Regions from separate parts of the Homo sapiens genome. Here region 2 is linked to region 1. Evidence: promoter capture Hi-C in 16 types of primary human blood cells and fetal thymus (Javierre and others, 2016). All regions are on one chromosome and are shown on one strand. Each heading gives the region's core, a stretch centred on a gene start or on the middle of the fragment in contact. The rest is flanking DNA. Distances are from core to core; before and after follow the strand shown. Region 1 holds the start of RNF170 (ring finger protein 170). Region 2 overlaps KAT6A (lysine acetyltransferase 6A).

The links. The method cuts DNA at HindIII sites, captures the fragments that hold promoters and counts their contacts. A CHiCAGO score of 5 or more calls a contact.
Region 2: a fragment that was not itself captured here is called in contact with the fragment with the promoter of RNF170 in region 1 in 1 of 17 cell types (total CD8 T cells); the score reaches 5.5 in total CD8 T cells.

What each region holds. Positions count from the first base shown.
Region 1 is chr8:42,894,041-42,901,728 of GRCh38, forward strand. It overlaps RNF170 (ring finger protein 170), which reads right to left and starts at 2,565. Exons shown (of 7, transcript NM_030954.4): 1 at 2,444-2,565. HOOK3 (hook microtubule tethering protein 3) reads left to right here and starts at 2,938. Exons shown (of 22, transcript NM_032410.4): 1 at 2,938-3,148. The coding sequence starts at 3,092. MIR4469 (microRNA 4469) reads right to left here and starts at 2,235; the gene lies at 2,157-2,235. RefSeq lists an enhancer at 1,682-2,243 and silencers at 2,150-2,361, 2,157-2,516, 2,697-3,486, 3,497-3,556. The HindIII fragment of the contact is 5,948 bases long and covers 197-6,144 here.
Region 2 is chr8:41,952,546-41,959,522 of GRCh38, forward strand. It overlaps KAT6A (lysine acetyltransferase 6A), which reads right to left. Exons shown (of 17, transcript NM_006766.5): 9 at 2,751-2,866. Among named protein-coding and RNA genes, the nearest start is that of KAT6A-AS1, 96 kb to the right of the region's middle. RefSeq lists an enhancer at 4,443-4,492. The HindIII fragment of the contact is 4,405 bases long and covers 811-5,215 here.

The sequences.
Region 1 (7,688 bases), core at 1,315-3,814:
CTGGAACAAAGGAGAGAATCTCAGTGTCTTTTTACCCCAAGGCTTACGTAGAAACTCAGCAGCCACATGGCTTCTGCAATTACTCACATCCAAAAAGTTTTTACTAATTTCTTTCATCAAAGGTAACTGGAATTACAAAATGAAACCTCCAGAACAACGTAACATCATGCACAAAAGCACTGTGGATATGCAGCCAAGCTTGAAAAAGGAGACTTTAGGTCCATTGTGTCAAAGCCTTGAAAACCGGGGCCACTGGAGGAAGGGTGCTCAGGACGGCACAACCACAGTCGCTCCAGTAGGGCCAGCATCTTATCTGCCCATCTAAAGACAAGCTGCATGTGAGTCAGGAGTAAGTCAATGTGACATATACTCACTGACTTCATTCACTTGCCTACAAGATTATACGTCACTTAAAAGTGCTAGAGATTCGACAGAAATAACCTGATAAGGAATGTAGGAACTCTAGTTTGACAAATATCCAGAGGCACCAACACAGGAACCAAACACAGGCGAGACACACATGTGTAATTTTTTTTTTCTTTTGAGACAGATTCTCGTTCTGTCGTCAGGATGGAGTGCAGTGGCGCGATCTCGGCTCACTGCAACCTCAGCCTCCCGCGTTCAAGCGATTCTCCTGCCTCAGCCTCCCGAGTAGCTGGGACTACAGGAGCCCGCCACCACGCCCGGCTAATTTTTGTATTTTTAGTAGAGACGGGGTTTCACCATGTTGGCCAGGATCTCTTGACATCGTGATCCGCTCGCCTCGGCCTCCCAAAGTGCTGGGATTACAGGCGCGAGACACCGCGCCTGGCCACGTATGTGTAATTTCTAAAGGTTTCTCTGCCCTTGGTGTAGGGAAGAATGTTTGAAAAAAAGACCATTGAGAATACTTCAGGTAAGTTTTTTTTTTTTTACACTTACAAAATGCTAAATGATCAGGGGTCAACTATCAAGTGGTACTCTGTAAGGCAACCTTAAAAACTCACTGCTGACCCAGGCTCGGTGGCTCACACTTTTGATCCCAGCACTTTTGGGAGGCTAAGGCGGGCGGATCACTTGAGCCCAGGAATTTGAGACCAGCCTGGGCAACATAGCGAGACCCCCTCTCTACAAAAAATAAGAAAATTAGCTGAGCATCGTGGCCTGCACCTGTGGTTCCAGCTACTTGGGAGGCTGAGGTAGGAGGATCACTTGAGCCCAGGAGGCAGAGGTTGCAGTGAACCAAGATTGCGCCACTGCACTCCAGAACGAGACCCTTTCTCAAAAACCACCATCAACAACAACAAAAAACCCCACTCAATGCTGTCTTGGCAGTTTTCAGTGCTCAATGAGAAAACCTACTCTTAATGGAAAAAAAGTGGGGGAAAGGGGTTCCAGGAACTACAAAGCAAAGTGTGTCTTGGGAAGTTAGCTTTGTTGCACTCCAAATAAAAATTTGGCATTGGGTGGTAGTTATGCATACTCTACGCATCGACAATTCTCTAAGGACTCCAAAGTGCATGTCCTGGAAATTCCAACATATTTGCACTACGTTCCAGGTACACTAGAATGTTTATAGCCATGTTCTGAGTGGCCTCAGTCTGAACAAAATGCCCAACCAGAGTAGAATGGATTCACTGTTCTATTCACACTGGAATACTAGGCAACAATTAAAATTACCTATACATACACAGTACACCAATTTAATACTGATTGAAAACCACAAAACAACACACTGTGATCCACCCGCAAAAGTTCAAAAACAGGCAAAGGAAAACGACATCGCATGCACACATAGATGGTAAAGCTGTAAGGAAATGATCACACTAGTCAGGCTAGGAGACAATCAGGCTCCGAAAGGAGCACAGGGCATGGGTGAGAAACTCCTGGGGTGCCGGTAATGCCCTTTTCGTTTTTATCTGGGTGTTTTATTAATTCTTCTTTAAACGTGTATGTCGTATGCACTTTTCTGCGTATGCTATATCTGTTAAAAATTTATCGGCAGCCCAGCAGACAGATTCGTGCCTCTAAAGAGGTGGAAGCTCCAGAACGATCCGCCTCGCCATTAAGCGAAGGCAACTCCGAACGCTGAGAAACGCAGGCCCGGGGTCGGCCGGTGTCCTTACGGATTGGCGAGCGGGCGCACACCCCTCCTGCATTAAGGAGAGTTCTCAGGGTCACGCTCCGAGCGACCCTAGAGGGAGCGGCGGTGTCCTCGCCGCCGCCAAACCCACCTAGAGCCGCTCTCCGCGTCGGCCCCTCCACCGTCGCCGGCGACTCCGGACAGCCGCGGGGCGATTCTGGGGCTTCCAGACGAGGGAGGGGCCCGGGGGGAAGGAGGCGGCGACTCCCGCCGCCCCGCAGAGCCTCGGCGGCCAGAGCTACCCCAAGAAGGCCAGACCCCGCCGTCCGCGGCTCCGCGGGCCCCGATAGGGTGGGCGTGGCCGCCGCGCGCCGGACGTACCTCTCCACCGCGAAGGAACTACCTCGCCAGTTCCCGGCGACAGAGGACAGATTATTTCCAGGACCGCTCCCGCCACCCCTCCCGGGCAACCCACTAGACGTCCCCTTTCTAATTTGGAGTGCGGGTGCGGGCGCACGCGCACTGCCGAGCTTCCGCGAGGGCGCGACCGGACGGCGGAGGAGGACCCGTCGCCGCAGCCTCCAGGGCGGAGCGCGTGCTCGCCTCGACACGCAGCGAACTGGTGGCGGGGGCGCGCCCGGCGGCAGCGGCGGCGGCGGCGGCGGCGGCGGCGGCGCGGCGGCGCGGGTCGGCCGGGGCGCGAGCGTGCGCAGTGGCTCCTCGGCCTCGGCTCCAGCCAGGGCGGCGGCGCTGGGGAGGAGCGGTGTGGGCGGCCGGGGGCGGGGACGCGGGGCGGCGGGCGTGTCCGAAGTCGCGCGCGGCTGGCGCGCGGTCCCGAGTGAAAGGAGAAGGAGGGGCGCTGGGGGTGACGGTGCGGAGCCGCTGCCAGCGCTGGGCGAGAGTCGGCGGCCGGATCCGAGGAGCAGGCGGGCCTGAGGCCGAGTCAGCTGCGCGGGCCCCCGGATCCCCCGACAGAGCGGCGGCGGTGTCTGGCCAGGCGGTAGGCGCTGCCTGGCCGCGGCGGGGAAGATGTTCAGCGTAGAGTCGCTGGAGCGGGCGGAGCTGTGCGAGAGCCTCCTCACTTGGGTACGTGGGGGCCGCGGGCCGGCGGGAAGACCCCCTCCCCCCGCCACCTACCGGGACCCTCCACGCGCGGCCCGTGGGGCGAGCGCTGCGGGCGACGGTGCCGTCACATCCGGGGCCTGGGGCGGGCGGGGCGAGGAGGCTCGGCCCAGGGTCCGAGAGAGACTTGCCGGGCCTGAGGCGTCGCTGTTCCGGGCGGACCCCGGCCGGGGCTGGGCTGGGAACGCGGCGGGCGACTCTGGGATCCGTGCGGCTGCTCGCAGCTGGGGCTGCGCTGCGCTCTGGGGGTGGCCGAGCCTGACTGCCCCGCGTCCAGGACCCGCCGCCGCTCCTCGCCTTTGTTGCCGCGTTCGCGGAGGACGGGCCCGGCTCCGGCCCGGGAACTGAAAGGACCTGTGAGGGAGCGTGGGGAGAATGCGGGAGGCGCCCGGGGACCCCGTTTCGGATGCAAGGCACCGCTGGCGGTGGGAGTGCGCGAGGGGCGGACGCCTGTCAGAGGCGTCGGGCAGACGTTTAAAGGAGTCTGGAGGTGTCTGGGCGTCAACAATGGAACTCGAAGGCCTTGGGGGACAGAGTCGTGGGATTCTGATTTTGAATTCTTAAACGGTTTTAGATTCCTCATACTTTGAAGTAAATACATGTTCACCTCTCACGTCAGCTGCCGCGCCTTCCTGAAGCCGGGTCTTCAGGACGCGGCAGGGGAACCGACGCCCGGGTTCCAGTCGTTCTCGCCGCGGCGCGGCCGGGGAGGGGGAGGGATGCGCAGAGCCCGGGCGGACCCCGCGCTGCCTTCGGGAGCCTCCGTTTCACTCATTGCTGAGAATGTTAATTAAATGTTTACGGATGTGTTTATGAAGGCTACTACAGCATTTGTATTACTTTTAAAGGTAAAACACGAATGTGAGAGAAATTCTCTTTAGCGGTGTCTTGGGTTACGAGTCAGGATCCCTGGAGTGTAGACGTCACGATCCTGTGCAAGGCACTTTGCTGGAAAGGCTGGAGAAGTATTGCCTTACGTTGGTTGTTAAAAAAATTAATAAAAATAGTCTGAGGTTTTTATAGTTTGGCTACGTCACGAATCAATTTCTGTCCTCTGAAACAGACTTGGTAGAGCTTGAGTAGCCAGTTGCATATCAGACCATTTAGGGGATTTCAGATCGTTAGCAGTAGTATGTAGTTAGCGTGCAGCTTACCCTTCTGATGAGTTCTCCCTCCAGGCAAGGAGATGGCTTTCACTGCTGTATTTCAGAAAAGAGGAAGACTGGTAAGTTGTATAATGTGGCTGAGGTTTCTGACTAGGCAGGGGAGAGAGAGAGAGGAAAGAATTACTAAATTCTTTGATGTTGTGGAAGGAATAGATTTGGCAGAATCTGTACATCTGTAAACAGAATGCTGAGGAACTTAAGATTTAAGTTTTTGAGACTGTGCAAGTAGTGCTTCCCTTTATGCTAGAAGAAGCAGCCAGAAGGCAAAGATGAAGCTAATTGAATCTAAGTAGGGCTACATTGTTTAAAATCTAGGGAGAAAGAAGACATGGAAATAAAGAGGTGTACAGAGGCTCCTTAACTTGCGATGGGGTTACATCCCGGTAAACCCATCATAAGTTGAAAATACCGTAAGTTGAAAATGCATTTCATACGCCTAACCGTCCAAACGGTAGCTTAGCTTGGTCTACCTTAAACGTGCTCAGAACACTTACCTTAGCCTACAATTGGGCAAAATCATCTACCACAAAACGTGTTTTATAATAAATTGTTGAATATCTAATGCAATTTATTGAACACTGTACTGAAAATGAAAAATATAATGGTTGTATGGGCACTCAGAGTATGGTTTCTACTGAATGTGTATCTTGCATCATTGTAAAGTTGAAAAGTCTTAAGTTAAACCATCCTAAGTTGGGGACCGTCTGTATTTGAAGGGTATCCACAAAATATGGTAGGTAGTAATTGCATTTATTTAAGTGAGAAATGCTGATAAAAATATACAGGAGAAATCTTAGAAGTTTGAAGGCCTGCTGACAGAACCTGACAACATGAGAGAATCTATTTAGAATCTCCTAAAATGTCAAGAAAACGAGTAATCCACATTATCAGCTGTAGAGAGGTCAGGGAGTATAGTATTGTAGAATAGGCTTTTTGAAATGTCACTGGAAACTCATCAATGAGAATTTCTGGATAAGATTAGAGATTATCAGTGACAAAATTGGAGGGCAGTGTTCATGAAGATGTACAGTTCTAAAATTTGGAAACACTTTAAAAGACATGTTTCAAAATAGAGTTTAAATGCTGGGTTTGTTCTCTTTTAGCTGTCATTATAAAAAGCAGAATAAATGTTTCAATGAGCAATGTTTGATGACATTTAAATGTATAATATCACCCCTCCTATCTGTAAGCCAGATTAATGCTAAGCACAATTCTAAAACCAAATGCAAGCAAAAATGTACACATACACTCCAAAGAAAAGACTCATTTAGATTAGTTTTCTTGATTTTATGTCAGCTTCTAGTCAGTTTGGTTGTGTGGGGGGTTTTGCTCTCACACAGTAAGCTAGAAGGTGACTGACACTCAGCAAAATGCAGACAACTGTCAGTGACAGACAAGATCTAAGAGCTGAATGATTCCGTCTTTGGGATGACAGCCTTATGTACTTCTAGAGCCTCCCTGTTCAAGTTTTGAAGATCATAATTATATTCCTGAGTATCAGATAAAAGTTTGTTTTCACTACATAGCATTTAGTTTGAGATTGGAGAGATGTATATAGTACATTTTAGAAATTATTCCACTAGAAATGGCTAAAGTAATAAAAGCTCAAGTACTTAAAGGGATGATTCTGTCACCTATACAGAACTCAATGGAACGTCTCATTGCCTCATATGCTAGATAAATTGCCCTTTTATCAGACAGCCTACTAGCCCAAGAACCATATGTTCCAAATTTTTTCGAAAGAGAGAGTTACAAAAAGAGTTAAGTATCATCTTACCAAGGGGAAACATCTTAAGCTTAAATTCCAAATCAAAGTTTATGCAAACAAGTTCAGCAGGACATGCTTGAAAATTTCCACTGTGCCTCCTCTCTCCACCCTCTGAGTCAAAATTTGCCCTGCCAATTACACCTGTGAAGCCTAATTTCTTGAACTGTATGTGAATCTCGATGAAAAGATAGCACTTTTCCAGGTTTTAGAGACTGAAAAACGAAGTCTACAATGCTACCAAGTTATGACAAAAAAAGTCATCACATAGGCTCGGTACACTTTGGGATAACCTAGCAACATTAATATGTCCTTATTGTTTTCATATTACTTATTTGGCAGCCTATAAAATGCATACTAGTATATAGAATTGGGGGTGGTATAATTATTATGGTGGTATCTCCCCCATTCCATTCTCCTCTGCCTAACTCGATTCTGCCAACAATTTTTGTCCTCTAATGGAAGAATAAGTCACTGATGTACAAAAGTTAAAGTACTTAAAAAGATAGTATAGCATAAGAGTACATACAGGTTCTGACATTAGGCAGCCTGGGTTCAAATCCTAGTTTTGTTCTATACTAACTGATGTGACTTTGTAACTTCACCTCTGTGTTTTGATTGCATTGATATTTAACTTTATGTTTGCTAACTTCACCAGAGATTCTCATGCTTTAGTGTTGATCTGCATCATCTGGAGAGCTTGCTAAAACACAGATGCCCAGAGTTGCTAGTTCTGTAGGTCTGGGCTGGGCCTGAGATTTTGTATTTCTAATAGGTTCCCAGGTGATGCCATTGTTGGTGACATAGGGACCACATTTTGAGGACCATGGCTCTAGAAAATTATTTGACATTTTGCGCTGGACAGTTCTTTGCTGTGTGGGCACTGCACTATGCGCTATGTTTAATAGTAGCATCCCATTGCCTCAACCAGCTAGATGACAATAGCACCCAACTCACAGCCAAAAATGTCTCCTCGGGAGCAAAATTATCCATTGCTCTAGAGATAGTAATTCCAGGTGATCTCATGCTTTACTCTTCTCATGCTTTTGTTGGGGAGGGGGAGGTAGAGGTTGGGTGGTGGTAATAGAGCTTCTTGGAATTAAAAGAAAGATTATAACCCTTCAGGTAGAGTTTCATGCCTTAATGCAGTTAAGTGCAATTGTCTTTCAGTTTTATTGTACTGCTATCCTGAAATAGATGTTAGCTCAGAGAACTGGTATGTGACAGATTTTTAAAAATTAAGGTACGGTTTACATACCCATAAAATTCATCCTTTTAAAGTGTATAATTTTTTTGGTTTTTAGTATGATCACAAGATTGTGCAGTCATCATGACTATCTAGTTCCAAGAACATTTTCATCACCCCAAAAATAAACTAGGGGATAAATTTTCTTTAGGATCTGTTTCACTTTGGTCTTGCAGCAGAGGTGGACATCTCTGACCCTTATGAGCAACTATGTACCTCAAGGGCTAATACAGAGAAAATAATTGAATAAAGCCATGTTTTAAAAACAAAAATGAAAATTTAGCTTCCCTAAATCCCAAGAGAAAAAAACAAATCAAGTCTTTTTTT
Region 2 (6,977 bases), core at 1,763-4,262, 940 kb before region 1:
ACAAATATCTGGATATGAAAGAACATTCCGTAAAGTATAATCCCACTTCCCAAAAGACGTTTTTCTTGTGATCTTTGCATTTTTGTTTGCTCCTATTGCCCTGTTTTTGTACGTTACAGTGTTTGAAACCTTTAATAAGAAAATAATTTATAAGCAGTTTAGCACGAAATAATAAATAGGCATTAACAAAATTAAGAATAGAGGTTTATTATTTGGAAAATGTAAGATCTCCAAACATTTTAGTCACCTCAAGTTTCAAGCTCATTTAAGTAAATATAATTTTTTTAAAAAATGTAACCAAGAGAACTACGAATATAAAGATAGAAAAAAAGTCATAATTACTCAAGAACCTATTAAAAATTACAGGATATTTTCTAATTGAAAACTCAAAGAACCCTATCCAATGGATGAAAAAATATACAGAAAATGTCTAAAACTGCTTAAGGAAGTTGATGAATTTTACAAGTTCCTATCCTGTTTCTGCTTTCTACTGGTTCCTATTATACTTTTTTTGGTTATTTTTTGATGGCATTATTTATTCTTTCACTGATAACTAGTCTCCTCACACCTGTTTCTAATGAAAATCTCATCAGAACAAAAGCTACATTTTCAATAAATCCTTTAAATATCTATCTTAAAAGAAAACAGTTTATGATTCCATTCTCATCATTCTCTTGAACAAAAGTAAATGCTAGCCCTCTATTTCCATTCCTGAATCTATTTCCTCTCCCCACCTTGAGTAGACAAGGGGCCTGTGGTTTCCATCTATCTGTACTATAGTCTCCGGAACAGTTGACAGACATGTGGAAAAGCTTTCTTTTCTAAGTTGAGTGCTCTTGTGATTTGGGCAGCTTGCAAAGAGCTCACTTAAAAAATGATCATAACAACTTATTTTAAACCTGATGAAAAAATTAATTCCTTGGCATATTTATTTTCTTTTCTTTTGAGATGGAGTTTCGCTCCTGTTGCCCAGGCGAGAGTGCAATGGCGCGATCTCAGTTCACTGCAACCTCCGCCTCCCAGGTTCAAGCGATTCTCCTACCTCAGCCTCCTGAGTAGCTGGGATTACAGGCACCCACCACCACGCCTGGCTAATTTTTATATTTTTAGTAGAGACAGGGTTTCGCCATGTTGGCCAGGCTGGTCTTGAACTCCTGACCTCAGGCGATCTGCCTATCTCGGCCTCCCAAAGTGCTGGGATTACAGGCGTGTCCTTGGCGTATTTCTTCTCGGTCATAAAAGATCTTGGCTATTCAGAATTCCTGAGGAATGAGTTAACTTGAACGCTGAGTTCTGTAGGTAGTTGAGGAAGTTCCTGCCTTCCTTTAACATATATACATATACAATACATACATGTATAATATATATGTATAATATGGAAATGCAAATACAATGTAACCTTATCTTAAAGTCACATTAATTGTTGTCAGCTCATGAAACAGTGTGCTTCCTTAAAGATACACCACAGTGTTTGGGGCTAACTGATCCCACAGTAAATGGCCCTCAATTGCTGTGTTTCATGAGCTTGTGTGTTAGTTTCCTGGGGTTTTGCTTTTTCTTCTGTTTTTGTTAGCTGTCACTTTGAGGTCAGTGTCTGAAATGGCATTCTTACCCCTATTTTTCTACTTCGACTGTAGACTAGAGAAGCAAGTTATTATATGGAAAGAAAAAGTAAAAAGATAAATAAGTTTTACTGGATGGCCCTTTTAACAACTATACTGGCCTATTCCTAGTTTCTTGGCAACAACCCATGTTAAGGCACTCAACATATTGTAAGGTACTAAATAAATTTTGCTAATATTTTGGCCAGGCAATGTTACTACATGGGTGAAAACTTACATGATGAGAATATTCTGAACATGTATTTAACCCACAAAGCACCATGATGTATTATTTCTTGTAACACCCTACTAAATGGGAAACTGAGGCATAAGTAGTTTATAGATTAGAGAGCATTAATGTCACTACAATTAACTAGTATTTAATTTTTTGATCTCATTTCATCTTTTAATTTTAACCATAAAGAAAAAATATAATAACTGACATTATTGAGCACTTACCATTTTCTAAGTGATTTACATGTTGTAGCTCATTTAATGTCCTCAATATCCCCACGAAGTAAGTACTATTACTATCTCTGCTTTACAGATGAGGAAACTGAGGCACAGAGCAGTTGGGCAGCTTTTAAGGTTACACAACTTACCAATTTCAGAGCTGAGTCATGAAACCACTTTAGCTCCACCAAGCTGGTGAGTGATCAATGTTTATTAATATATCTGGAAGCCCAAACTATTTATATATAATTTTTACACCAATTGTCCAATTATTTCTGGGAAAACAAACCATTTATTAAGTTTGTCAAATTATAAATATTTATTTACATCAAAGACTAATCAACTGAAACTTTATATTAATTTATATATGAGTTCTTCTCTTTTTCAAAATTCTTAGTGATAGGAGTGAAGACAAATTTCTCTTAAAAAAAAAATAAAAAAGCATTCCCCTTTTATTGTGACCATGCATTCGGGTTTCTCATTTTAAACATCAGCGTCTGAGAGGTTACAGAAGAGAACATCTAAAGCAAACTGGGATGAAGTGGCTGCCAAAGCCGCTGCTATTATGGACATTTAAAAGCCCCCAGTTTCCTCAAATGTAAAGGATAAGGTGGACTCAAACATCTTCAAGATCCCTTCCAGTTCCAGACTTCTATGGATCTCAAAACAGAAGGTCAAGGGTCTCTCAAAACATACCTTGAGTATTCTTGAGGATATGGGGAGGAGTACCAGGTGTGAATTTCATACTTCCCAAACTCAATGACAGAGGGACAGCGGACTTGTGGATCAGGGGGACCAGTCACTCCAACTTTCTGTGCAGTCAAGAAATACATTCAAAAGTTAGCTAAATTAGACACACTGAGATAACAAAGAAAGTTCTGAATCTAAATGTTGTCTTCTCAGGACTCCAAAGGAGTAAAACAAAAACAAAAGCCAGAACAAGCTAACATATTTTGAAATAAGTTATATTATTCCTTAAACAGAGCACCCAGATGAAAAATAAAAATGCTAATAAATCTCTTAGAACCAAATGCATTGGGTGTTGCTGCATTTCTACATTTAATAACAGTAAAAATATTTTCCTCAATTAAACTCACTCTTAATGACTTAATATTAAAGAGAAACTGCTGATACTTGGTGATATAAGATAAAGAATAATTTACAAGTGAGGGAGGGGGACACTGCATATTTGCTGAAGTCCTACCACACTGCCTCCGCTGACAACAATGGAGATGCCCTACTGAATATGTAAGCACACAAAGGATGATTTTTTAGTTTGGGAAAGTAGATATTTAAGAGAAATACAAAAAGAATCTGACAAAACAAGTATCAAGAGAGTCTTCATTTCATACTATGCCTAAAATTCCCTTCATTAGTAGCTCTGCATAGATTTAACCAAAGAAAGACACTCTGTTATATACAGACCTTCTCTTTTTTCTGCCTTCTCTTTACAATGAAAACAATCTCTATACCCCTCATCCCTGCAATAGTCTGAACTACATTATCTAAACAGAGAATAATTTTTAAAGCCTTTATGACTTCCCTGACTTTCCAGATCAGAAATTCAAACATAAGTACGTAGCTCAAGAAAATAAAGGCTGTTAAGGGTCTTAACATGTTAACTCAAGGGCAACATGACTTGCTCTGCACCCAGTCTAGCAACAGATGCATATACACACTCATGTCCATGTGTGTGAGTGCAGATATATCATGGATGCTCTACAAATACTAACTGACAAGAAAAAGACAAAAGAGTTTAGCCTAACCAAAAACAAGCATTAATAACTCTTCCCCAAAAGGATAACTGAAATTATCCTTCAATTTTATGCTTTAAAGACCACTAAGAGACTAGTAAAAATCCCTTGTTGGAGCATGCAGACACACATACATATTTTATAACAAAACTAAAAGAAATTTTTATTCATTGGTTTTATATAAATCCGTTTAAAGAAGCCTCTTCACCATAACTCATTAGAGACCTTCTGGTCTTTCTAACCATTCTCTTTTATAAAAGGCCAAGGGACTTATCTCAGGTTTCATACTGGAATGTAGCCAAATGAAACCTCAAGCTCTTCCTTAGACACCTCAAAACAAAAGACAAAGATCTGTTTGTGGGATGAATTGTGTTATAACACCACCAAGTACTGGGGCTCCTCCAAATACAAAACCAAAAACAATGAAGAATACATAATACAGGGTTAAAATAAGATTTCTTTCATTTCTCAAAACCCAAACAGAACTTTGTAAAAAGATTTTTTAAAGGCTGTTTTTAAACTACATTCTAGAATCAACTACTCTAACTCATAAAGTACTATCTTTTCATCTATCTTCACAACTCAAAGTAATAACAACAGTATAGGAAACTTTCAAAATAACTAAATACCAGAAACCAGATCTAACTTCCTGAGGCAAGGATCAGATAGAAAGCCCAAAAGCTGAAGTCATGCACCTGCTGCGGCACTGTCTGTTGTTTGAGGGTCTTCCCATCAGCTGCCCGCTGCTCTTCTAGGCGGATGCCCGATGTGAAAGTGGATATCCAGTTCCAGTACAGCTGTTTGCACATCACCACAACTGCGCACGTCTGTCCAGAATGGGACCTGTGGTAGGTTCCCCTCTGCCCACACCCGCCTTTAACCTTTGCACCGTGAAACGTTCCTGCACATGCGCTCATGTGTGAGCCCGCCTCCACTCCCAGCTCCCCTGAGCAAGCCTCCACAGCAAGGGTGTTTCCTTTTACGAAGATTTAGAAATCAGCAAGGCTCTCTACACAGGGAGGAAGAAATGGCTACACAGAAACCACTCATTCCAGTCCTAGCCAAAATCAAACTGTCATATCTGAACTACAAGGTTACCTTTGCTAGGTCTTTTTATTTTAACATTTCAACCAAAGTACGTTTTCGCTAAACATGTGACTTTCCAAAGCAGCAGGTGTCTAATATAATCAAGGGCACAAAATATATTTAAATGTTTAACTCAAATTCTGCCACTTCATGTCCTCCTAATTTAAATATGCCAAATTATTTAAAAGAAGACGTATGTTCCAGGCTAGAATTGACCTTTTAATCTAAGATAACTAACAGGGGGTAGCAAGGGGGTGGATTAAATACACTAATAATTGGGCTAAACCAAAAGAAAACTTTATGCCTACTGCTAGATAATAAAGCTTTTATTACCACCAGTTTATATGAAAAGAGTATTACTCTTCTACAAAAACTTAAGCTTCAATTAAATGACTCATCTAATTCCAGTTTGTAACATAAAAAAGGCCATTCTTGCAGTATCCCCAACTCTGGATCTGGTAGGGACACCAAAATTGTGTAAATAATTTAACAATTTCTGTAAACACAGAGCTGCTGCCTTCCCCCATCTGTCCACTGGAGCGCTCTCACTTGCCCTTCCCTCTCCATTCCCCAAGGGGGTGCAATGTTTTGAGGAGAGAGGGAGGTACCCCTTTATTATCAGTGTGAGGCTGGGAATGTGGGGAGAAGAGATGGCTTTCTGGCATTTGAACATTTTCCCACAGAAACACTACAGTAAGTAATTCCATTCATTAGGGATTAAAAGTTACATGATGAAAGAGGTATGAAAGAATGAATTCACATGCTCCACAACAGAGAGAGCATGAATTTAAGGACTAGAGAAAATCATGTTCGTGGAGCACCTATTGTGCTAGACTCTGACCTGAGCCTTATGTCGTTACCTCCTTTGGTCCCCACAATCCATCCTTCAAAGTAGAAAACAATATACCCACTCTGCAGATGAAAAAATAAGCCTCAGATAAGCCTCAGGTTAAGAGGCAAAAGCACCGGGCAGGAACAGCGAGTGAAGCATAAAGACAGAAAAGAATGACATGGGTTGAGATGTGACGGAAGTAACGACAGCCCTCAACTAATTCCTCCCTAAATTCCCAAAGTTTATGGGTAAGTTTTTAAAAACGGGAACTTGGTTTTCCAAAGAAATGAAGCTACAAGTCCACAAACTTTTAACCCAAAACCCTTGGACTGGAGTAGAATGTGTTTTGGAATTCTGAATTTTTCTGATTTTAGAAAAGTATTAGTACATATATGTGTATAGTACATGCATGTGTATAGCCCTAGTAGGATTTGGAGCAGCACTCCATAATCAGACACACTAAAATTTCTTTAGCAAAGCATATGAATATTCACATTAACTGGCATAAGTAAGGAATACAAATAGTCTCACATCAGCTCAGATCATGTTTTTGTCAGTAACTCAGTTCAGGTCAAGTGGGACTTTATTGCAAAATGAGTTAGAAAAGGCCGGGCGTGGTGGCTCACGCCTGTAATCCCAGCACTCTGGGAGGCTGAGGTGGGCGGATCACGAGGTCAGGAGATCGAGACCATCCTGGCTAACAAGGTGAAACCCCATCTCTACTAAAAATACAAAAAATTAGCTGAGGAGCTTGGTGGCGGGCACCTGTAGTCCCAGCTACTCAGAGGCTGAGGCAGGAGAATGGGGTGAACCCAGGAGGCAGAGCTTGCAATGAGCCCAGATCGCGCCACTGCACTCCAGCCTGGGTGACAGAGCCAGACTGTCTCGAAAAAAAAAAAAAAAAAAAAAGTTGGAAAAGTTTCTTTCCATTCTCCAAAGAAGATATACAGATGGCCAATAAGCTCATGAAAAGATGCTCAACATCACTAATAATTAGGAAAATGTAAATCAAACCACAATCAGATACTACTTCACACCCATTAGGATGGTTATTATTTTTAAATGCAAAACACCAGAAAATAACAGATGTTGGTGAAGATGTGGAAAAATCAGAACCCTTGTCCCATTGCTGGCGGGAATACAAAATGGCACAGCTGCTGTGGAAAACAGTATGATGGTTCCTCAAAAAAGTAAACAGAATTACCACATAATCTAGCAATTCCACTGCTGATTATAGACCCCACAGAACTG